Linked DNA regions of Homo sapiens: region 1 is linked to region 2. The links are contacts of gene promoters, found by promoter capture Hi-C in human tissues and cell types (Jung and others, 2019). All regions are on one chromosome and are shown on one strand. Each heading gives the region's core, a stretch centred on a gene start or on the middle of the fragment in contact. The rest is flanking DNA. Distances are from core to core; before and after follow the strand shown. Region 1 overlaps GINS1 (GINS complex subunit 1). Region 2 holds the start of NINL (ninein like).

Region 1 (4,793 bases), core at 1,863-4,362, 140 kb after region 2:
CAGCAAGGAGCAGGTAAGTGAGCAGTTATGGACAGCACTTTCCATGTGGTGCTTCCGACCCTGGCTGTCAGAGTGAAATGTAAAGTCAGGGCTCTGTACAGTTTTGCCATTTCACTGTTCTGCTTTAAGCTTAGCTTATTAGAACTCTTGGTGGAGGGTGCGTACACACATTCCAGAAAAGGCTTCACTCGCTGGGAACGTCAACCCAGCGAGAAAGGAGGGGAAGCCCCTTCTCCGGGGACCTTATCTGTGGACTCAGGAATGATGGTGTTTATTGCAAATGCACAATCTTTTTCCCATTGAAATGTCATCACACTGGAAATTGTACTATATGTAAAAAAAAAAAAAAGTATAGTTTTATATTTGAAATGTATGCAAATTATGGCCATATGGCTGATTGGAATGTACTACTGTAATATAAAAAGTCACTGTATTTGCAATAAATTCTTTTCTATTAAAATTGACTTCTAAGTTTGTTTTTAATTTTTTAAACTATAAAATATTTCAAACATAGAGGAAAATAGTTATGTAAGAAACACCCATGTGCCCATCAACATATCTAGTAAGAATAATATCCTGCCACAGCACTGTGGAGGGCGGGAGCCTGTTCTGTTCTCAGCCTCCTCCCTCTTCCCGGGGCAGCCGCCATCCCAAAGCTGGCATGTCTTCTCCTTTCTGCAGGAGAAAAATGTCACAGCACCGTGGAAAGATAACAAAGCCTGGAACAGATGGAAAGGTCGGTTCTTTGGAAGATTCGGCAACATGAAGTTGACTGGTTCTTCAAAGTTTACTGATGATAAATGTAATTAATCCCAATATAAATACAGATGTTACATGCCCCAATCAACCCCAGAATTGGACAAGACATTCTAAAGTTTTTACATACAACTAAATAAGCAAACAAAACAATTAGGAAAACTCTGAAGAAAGAAGAGCAATGTATGGGGACTAGTTCTACCAGTTATTAATATGTAAGTCCTAATACAGTTTATGTTACATGGGTGTATGCATTTGTCAAAACTCATTGAGGAGTACACTTCTTCATTCACTTTGGGCTTCTGTCTGAGACTGGAGTAACGAGATTGGAGTAACCAGGAGACCTGAACAACATTATCAATCTACTGACATCTAGAACCCACCACACGACACCAGTAGAAGCAAATGCAGCCAAACACTTACCAAGACAGACCATATCTTGGGCCAACAAATCTCAAAAAATTACGAAGATTCAAGCCATACAATGTATGTACTGTGACCACAATGGAACTAAATTAGAAATCTGTCCCCCAATACGAAGCTGGAAACCATCATTCTCAGCAAACTGTCACAAGGACAGAAAACCAAACACCGCATGTTCTCACTCATAGGTGGGAATTGAAAAATGAGAACACTTGGACACAGGAAGGGGAACATCACACACCGGGGCCTGTCCTGGGGTAGGGGGAGGGGGGAGGGATAGCATTAGGAGCTATACCTAATGTAAATGATGAGTTAATGGGTGCAGCACACCAACGTGGCACATGGATACATATGTAACAAAACTGCACATTGTGCACATGTACCCTAGAACTTAAAGTATAATAAAAAAATAAAAAATGAGGTAAAGTGAAATAAATAAATAATTACCTGTGCCCTGAAAAAAAATATATATATATCCCCCAATATTTGGAAACTGAACAACATACTGCTGAATAACGCATGAGGCAAAGAAGAGATAAGAGGGGAAGTTGGGAAATATCCTGGATTGAATGGAAATGAAAACACAATATATCAAAATTTGTGGGGTAGAGTGAAAGCATTACTTAGGGGAAAAGTCTTAGCACCAAACACCCAGGTTAGAAGAAAGGTCTCAAATCAACGACTTGAGCTTCTACCTTAAATAATTAGACAAAGAAGAGCAAATTAAACCTAAAGTCAAAAGAAAAGAAAATGATGATGATCACAGCAGAAACCAAGGAACGGAACAGATTGGCTGTGCCATGCTGCAGGCTAGAGCTGCTGTGTTAAGTTTGGTTGGCACGGCCACACTCAGTTACAGATTCCCTACGTCCACAGATTCCCTACGCCTGCTTCGTGCTCCAGCAGCAGCACGGAGCGGCTGTTAACAGGTCATGTGGCCCACAAAGCCTAATACACAGAAAACATTTGTTGACCCTTGAAATAGAAAACAAAGAATAGAGAAAGTAAACCAAAGACATGTTCTTTCAGAAGATTAGTAAAACTGATAAACTTCTAGTCCAGTCAGAATAAAAGAAAAGAAAAACTAATACCAAAAATGAGAAGTGATATCACTACAGGTAATACCACTATAGTCTACAGATATACAAGCATCATAAGGCAATATTATGAAGAACATTTTTATTTTTTGAGACAGGGTCTCACTGTTGCCCAGGCTGGAGTGCAGTGGCATGATTATAGCTCACTGCAGCCTCCAACTCCCGCTTCAGCCTCCCGAGTAGCTGAGACTACAGGTGCACAGCACCACACCTGGCAATTTTTTTTTTTTCCTGACGTCTCGCTATGTTGCCCGGGCTGGTCTCAAACTCCTGAGCTCAAGCGATCCTTCTGACTTGGCCTCCCAAAGTGCTGGGATTGCAGGCGTGAGCCACCGTGCCCAGCCCATGAACAACTTTATATAAATAAATTTGGTAACTTAGATAAAATGGAGAATACATAAATTGCCAAAGCTCATTCGAGAAAAAAAATGGATAACCAAAATAGCCATGTATTTATTAAGCCAAAACTGTGGTTAAGCTTCCCACAAAGAAACTTCGGGCCTAGATGGCTTAAATATGAACTCTATAAACATTTAAGAAATAAATAATACCAAGTATATAAAACGTATGATAGATATATTGATTTCATCCATGGCTCCTTGTCTGTAACTAACTCCCATGGCCTTCGTTGCAGTCTTGTAATGCTTGGGCATTTTAGGCCTCAGAAGACATTCTCTTTCTGCCCTTCTGCCCTCCTTTCACCTGCTCCTTTTCCCGCCTTTCTGTCTTGGAGCTGGCCATAAAGAAATTCTCTGTGATCAGAAGGGGCACTGCCTCATACTCTGAAAGAAGAAATGCAGCAGAGGCTAAGAACCAGAGCAGACGGGCCTGGCTGAATGGCGCCACTCAGACTGTGAGCATTAGATCATACCCTCTTAGTCCAATCGTCTCTCTGCTTGGTTGTTGATAATGCCTATCTAATGAGATTTCTATAAAAGGCCCAAAAGGACAGGGTGTGGAGAGCTTCCGGATTGCTGAACATATGGAGGCTCCTGGAGGGTGGTGAGCATCGAAGCTCCATATCCTTTCCCCATACCTTACCCTATGCATCGCTTCCATTTGGGTCCTTTCATCTGCGTATTTTACCATATCCTTTACAATAAACCAGTAAGCTTAAGTGTTTCTGAGTTCTGTGAGCTGCTCAAGCAAATTAATTGAATCCAAAGAGTGGGGCATGGGAACTCCAACTTGAAGCTAGTTGGTCAGAATCTCAGAGGCCCACACTTGTGGCTGGTGTCTCAAGGGAGGGCAGTCTTGGACTGAGCCCTGACCCTGTGGGATCTGACGCTATCTCCAGGTAGTGTCGGAACTGAAATAGAAGTAGAGGACACACCTGCTCTCCACTGCAGAGCTTGGTATGTGGGAAAAACCCCCATGCATTTGGTCACAGTCTTCTGTGTTGTTGTTGTTAAGTGACAGAACAGTTTTTTTTTTCTATTTAGAAAACTCTTCCAAAAAACTGAATAGGAGGGATTATTTTCCCAAGAACACCAGACCAGTATTTCTCATGCACACTGATGCAAAAATTCTACAAAAAAATTTCAAATAAAATCTTACAAAAAGGAGAATATATCATGACCAGGTGTGGTTTATGCCAGGAATCCAGGGTAGGTTTAACATTGAAAACTCAATCGATCAATCAGCCACTGTAATTCACCAGACTAACAAACTAAAAGACAAAACCATCTCAACAGATGCAGAAAAAAGATATGACAAAATCCAGCATCCATTTCTGACTTTTAAAAAAATTCTCAGTAAACTAGGTGTATTAGTCGTCTTATGCTGCTAATAAAGACATACTGGAGAGTGGGTAATTTATAAAGGAAAGAGATTTAATTGACAGTTCCACATGGCTGGGGAGGCCTCACAATCACAGCATAAGGCAAATGGATAGGGACCAAAGTCACGTCTTACATGGTGGCAGGCAAAAGAGCATGTCCAGGGGAACTCCCATTTATAAAACCATCAGATCTCGTGAGACTTATTGACTAACACCAGAAAAGTATGGGGAAAACTACCCCCTTGATTCAATTATTTCACCTGGCCCTGCCCTTGACACATGGGAATTATTACAGTTCAAGTTGAGATTTGGGTAGGGACACAGCCAAACCATATCACTAGGAATAGGAAGGAACTTCCTACCCCAATAAAGGGCATCTACAAACAACTTAAGAGCTAACAAACATCATAATAGTGAAAGACTGTTTTCCTTCTTAGATCAGGAACAAGATAGGGGTGTCTTTGACCACATATATTTAGTACTCTACTGGAAGTTCTAACCAATGCCATCAGGCAAGAAAAAGAAATAAAAGGCATTCAGATTAGAAAGGAAGGAGTAAAACTCTTTATTCATAGAACACATGACTGTTGATGTAATTTACAAAAACACCATGAGAACTCACAGTTTAGCAAGGCTGAAGGATACAAGTTCAACATCAATTGTATTTCTATTTACTAGCAACAAGTGGTTAGAATTTGAAATTTTAAAATACCATTTAGCATCAAAACTATGAAATG
Region 2 (5,154 bases), core at 545-3,044:
TTATTTTTTGGAGACAGAGTCTTGCTCTGTCGCCCAAGCTGGAGTCTAGTGGCAAGATCTCAGCTCACTGCAACCTCCGACTCCTGGGTTCATGCAATTCTTGTGCCTCAGCCTCACGAGTAGCTGGGACTACAGGCGCGCGTTAACCACAACTGGCTAATTTTTTTGTGTTTCAGTAGACACTGGGTTTCACCATGTTGGCCACGCTGGTCTCGAACTCCTGTCCTCAGGCAATCTGCCCACAGTGGCCTCCCAAACTACTGGGATTACAGGCATGAGTCACCGTGCCTGGCTGTATTTACTTTTTTTTTTCTTTTTTTGAAATGGAGTCTCACTCTGTCGCCCAAGCTGGAGTGCAGTGGCTTGATAACCACAACCTCCGCCTCCCAGATTCAAGCGATTCTCCTGTCTCAGCCTCCTGAGTAGCTGGGATTACAGGCATATGCCATCACGCCCGGCTAATTTTGTATTTTTAGTAGAGACGGGGTTTCTCCATGTTGGTCAGGCTGGTCTTGAACTCCCGACCTCAGGTGATCCGCCTGCCTCAGCCCCCCAAAGTGCTGGGATGACAGGCATGAGCCACTATGCCCGGCCGGGTATTTACGTTTTTAAATTGTTTTCTGTGTAAACTCTATAAGGGCCAGGGATTTTTTGCACCGCTGTTGGCAGCCCCTAGGACAATGCCTGGCCCTAGTAGGTGTTCGATAAATATATACAGGTTGAATATCCCTTAACCGAGATGCTTGGCACCAGAAGCATTTAGGATTTCAGATTTTGGAATATTTGCATTATACCAATTGAACACCCCTAATCTGAAAATCCAAAATTAGAAATGCTCCAATGAGGCCAGGTGCGGTGGCTCATGCCAGTAATCCCAGCACTATGGGAGGCCAAGGTGGGAGGATCACTTGAGGCCAGAAATTCCAGACCAGCCTGGGCAACATGGTGAAGCCTCCTCTCTTAAAAAAATACAGGCCGGGCGCGGTGGCTCACGCCTGTAATCCCAGCACTTTGGGAGGCCGAGGCGGTGGATCCATCCCTTGAGCCTAGGAGTTCGAGACCAGCCTGGGCAACACAGTGAGACTCTGTGCTAAAAATACAAAAATTAGCGGACATGGTGGCAGATGCCTGCAGTCCCAGCTACTGGGGGTTGGGACGCTGAGGCGGGAGGATCGCCATAGCCGGGAAAGTCGAGGCTGTAGTGAGCCATGACCGCGCCACTGCATCCCAGGCTGGGCAGCAGAAGTGACAGCCTTTCTCAAAAGAAAAGAAAGTTAAAAGAAGAAAAAAGAAGTGCTCCAATGTGCATTTCCTTTGAGCATCAGGTCAGCGCTCAAAAACTTTCAGATTTTGAAGCATTTCGGATTTCAGATGTTTGGATTAGGGATGCTCAACCCGTATTGATTTAATATGCGGTGGAAACGTGACGACCTAGGTTTTAAGTCGCGGTTTCCTCAGTGGTGGGTTTGGGGTATTACCCCTGCCTGGCCGGCCTCCGGGCTTGTTTCCAGAAGATGCTACCCCGAGAGCTGCGAACCGCCAAGCTCCGCAGCGCGCAGGGCTCCGACAGGGACCAGCGAGGTCAGCTCCAAGGGTCACCCCAGGCTCCAAACTGGCCAGAGCCGCCCTGAGATTTGCGGAGGCCGCCTTGCCCCCACCCCGCCCCGCAATCCCGGACCCGACCCGCCCCCTCTCCCGTTCGCTCGCCCCGCCCCCTGTTCGCCCACTGCGCCGGGACACCGAGGGGGCGGTGCCTCGAGGCCGGGAGGAGTGTTGCGTCGCGGCCTCCAGACACAAAGAGCGGCCGGCGGTACGGGGGTGGTGCCGCGCTCCTGGCCCCGCGCGGGCGGACGGCGGAGGCGCCTCCCAGGTGAGCCGGCCCGGGCGTCCGGCGGGACATTCAGGCGGCTGGTGGGGTCGAGAGTCCGGGGCCGCCCCTGCGTCGCGACCCGCGCCTTAGTCACCAGACCCGGCTCCGGGAGCGCGGCCTCGGGTGCTCCTCGCGGTGCGGGGCGCAGACTCGGCGCATCTGCTGTGGTGCCTGCTCTTCCGGTCGCCCTCGAGGGCGGGGCGGGGGTCACGCCCTAAAATACAGCGCCCGCTGGGCCGAACGCTTGAAAACCCGGTTTCCCGACGGCGGCGGCGCGGGCGCCGTGCGAACGAGGGCCCGGGTCCAGCACAGCCCCAAGGCTCGGCCTGAGGCGGGCGGCCTTGGCCGGGGCCCCCCGTGGTAATGAGCTACGCGGTGCCCGCCGCCTGCCCAGCGCGGGCCGTTTCTCCTGACGCCGCCGGCGTCTGGTCGAGGCCCAGGATTCCCTCCTGCCAGTGTGGCTGCGGCCCCCCACGGAGCGGGACCCGCGTTCGTGGCGCTTGGGACGGTTGATTGAAAGGGTGTAGAAGTCTGTTGCGAATTTTATCTGTTGTACTCGTTTTGCAGATTCGCCCCTTTCCTCCCGCCTGTGCGCGCAGTCACACACACCATGTGGGAGTCTCTGATCGCGTTGGGTTCATAATCATCGATCGTGCCTGGGTACTGATGCCCCATTGTTAGGAGCTCTGTGTGGGGCTGTATGTTTGCACAGGACTCACGTGAGGAAGGGTGGCCACGTTTCTTTCTGCTCTGTGAGACTTAGGCCAAGCCCTGGAACTAGGGAGGAGGTTCAGGAAGAGACCCATGAAGCTGGCGGGGCCTTGGAGAAGGGCAAGTGATTTTCAAGGTCAGTAGTAAGAGGGGTCATGAGTAATGGTAAGTTTCTTAGCGGCCTTTGCTGTGACTTCTAGGTTTTTCACACTGGACTTAAAATACTTTTAAAAGCAGAGTTTTTGTTCTTCTTGTTGTTGTTCTTGTTGTTGTTGCTGTTTTTGAAACGAAGTTTCACTCTTGTTGCCCAGGCTGGAGTGCAATGGCGCCATCTCGGCTCACTGCAACCTCTGCCTCCCGGATTCAAGCGATTCTCCTGCCTCAGCCTCCCGAGTAGCTGGGATTACACGCCCAGCTAATTTTTTGTGTTTTTAGTGGAGATGGGGGTTTCACCATGTTGGCCAGGCTGGTCTCGAACTTCTGACCTTCAGGTGATCCAGCTGCCTCGGCCTCCCAAAGTTCTGGGATTACAGGCGTGAGCCACTGCACCCGGCCAAGTTTTTGTTTTGTTTTGTTTTTGTTTTTTAATTTTATTTTACTTTAAGTTCTGGGATACATGTGCAGAACGTTCTGGTTTGTTACATGGGTATACATGTGCCATGATGGTTTGCTGCACCTATCAACCCGTCATCTAGATTTTAAGCCCCACATACATTAGGTATTTGTCCTAATGCTCTCCCTCCTCTTGCCCCCCACCCGCCCCGACAGGTCCCGATGTGTGAGGTGTGTGATGTTCCCCTCCCTGTGTCCATGTGTTCTCATTGTCAACTCCCACTTATGAGTGAGAACATGCGGTGTTTGGTTTTCTGTTCTTGTGTTAGTTTGCTGAGAATGATGGCTTCCCACTTTATGCATGTCCCTGCAAAGGACATGAACTCATTCTTTTTTATGGCTACGTAGTATTCCATGGTGTATCTGTACCACATTTTCTTTATTCAGTCTATCCGTGATGGGCATTTGGGTTGGTTCCAAGTCTTTGCTATTGTAAATAGTGCTGCAATAAACATACACGTTTATGTGTCTTTATAGTAGAATGATTTATAGTCCTTTGGGTATATACCCAGTAATGGGATCACCGGGTCAAATGTTATTTCTGGTTCTAGATCCTTGAGGAATCGCCACACTGTCTTCCACAATGGTTGAACTAATTTACACTCCCACCAACAGTGTAAAAGCGTTCCTATTCCTCCACAGCCTCTCCAGCATCTGTTGTTTCCTTGCTTTTTAATAATTACCATTCTAACTGATGTGAGATGGTATCTCATTGTGGTTTTGATTTGCATTTCTCTAATGACCAGTGATGATGAGCTTTTTTTTTAATATATGTTGTTGGCTGCATAAATGTCTTCTTTTGAGAAGTGTCTGTTCATTTCCTTTGGCCACTTTTTGATGGGGTTGTTTTTTTCTTGTAAATTTGTTTAAGTTCCTTCTATATTCTGGATATTAGACCTTTGTCAGAAGGGTAGATTGCAAAAATTTTACCCCGTTCTGTAGGTTGCCTGTTCACTCTGAAGAGTTTCTTTTGCTGTGGAGAAGCTCTTAGGTTAGATCCCATTTGTCAGTTTTGGCTTTTGTTGCCATTGCTTTTGGTGTTTAGTCATGAAGACTTTGCCCATGCCTATGTCCTGAATAGTATTGCCTAGGTTTTCTTTTAGGTTTTTTATGGTTTTGGGTTTTACATTTAAGTCTTTAATCCATCTTGAGTTAATTTTTGCATAAGGTGTAAGGAAGGAGTCCAGTTTCTGTTTACTGCATATGGCTAGCCAGTTTTCCCAGCACAATTTATTAAATAGGAAATCCTTTCCCCATTGCTTGTTTTTGTCAGGTTTGTCGAAGATCAGATAGTTGTAGAAAGCAGAGTTTGTTTTTTTTTTAAGTAGTTAAAACTCATCTGTTAAACAGAACACTGAATCAGCAGCCTAGCAGTTTTATGAACTGTGTGCAAGAATGCTTGTATATTAAAAGGAAAATGTTCAGGTGTTAGAGAAGCAGTCTACTTTCATGCTTGTCCCTTTTGTTTGACTTATACATCATCCATTAGTGGTTTAAATGATGACAGATTGAATTGATCTGTATTGGCAAATAAAAGTGGGATGTGTGTTTATGTAAAGTTCAGGTGCAATAAAAATTAGAGGATAACTCTTTTTTGTAGAATGAGAAAATAGCAAGCCTTCTCCAAGGAACTTGGACTTCAGATTTTTTCTTTTTAATGTAGAGCCGGGAGTCTTGCCCAGGGTGGTCTCCAACTCCTGGGCTGAAGTGATCCACCTGCCTCAGCCTCCCAAAATGCTGGGATTACAGGTATGAGCCACCACACCTGACCTCAGATAACATTTAACTCCATCAAATTGGAAAGAAAGCACTTTATAGAGGAATAGTTAGGACTTAAGCAAAAAGTTTTGTTTTTTGTTTGTTTGTTTGTTTGTTTTTGATATGGAGTCTCGCTCTGTCGCCAGGCTGGAGTGCAGTGGCGCGATCTCGGCTCACTGCTACCTCCACCTCCCAGGTTCAAG

Evidence for each region. Contacts are between HindIII fragments. The study calls those that stand out against the background at their distance.
Region 1: a contact is called between a fragment that was not itself captured here and the fragment with the promoter of NINL in region 2, in 2 of the 25 tissues and cell types used here (H1 embryonic stem cells and ovary).

Annotation. Positions count from the first base shown.
Region 1 is chr20:25,448,368-25,453,160 of GRCh38, reverse strand. GINS1 (GINS complex subunit 1) reads right to left here. Exons shown (of 7, transcript NM_021067.5): 7 at 4,598-4,793. It overlaps NINL (ninein like), which reads left to right. Exons shown (of 24, transcript NM_025176.6): 24 at 1-464. Among named protein-coding and RNA genes, the nearest start is that of GINS1, 43 kb to the right of the region's middle. The HindIII fragment of the contact is 3,339 bases long and covers 1,443-4,781 here.
Region 2 is chr20:25,582,171-25,587,324 of GRCh38, reverse strand. It overlaps NINL (ninein like), which reads left to right and starts at 1,794. Exons shown (of 24, transcript NM_025176.6): 1 at 1,794-1,870. RefSeq lists a silencer at 1,730-1,859. The HindIII fragment of the contact is 43,094 bases long and covers 1-5,154 here.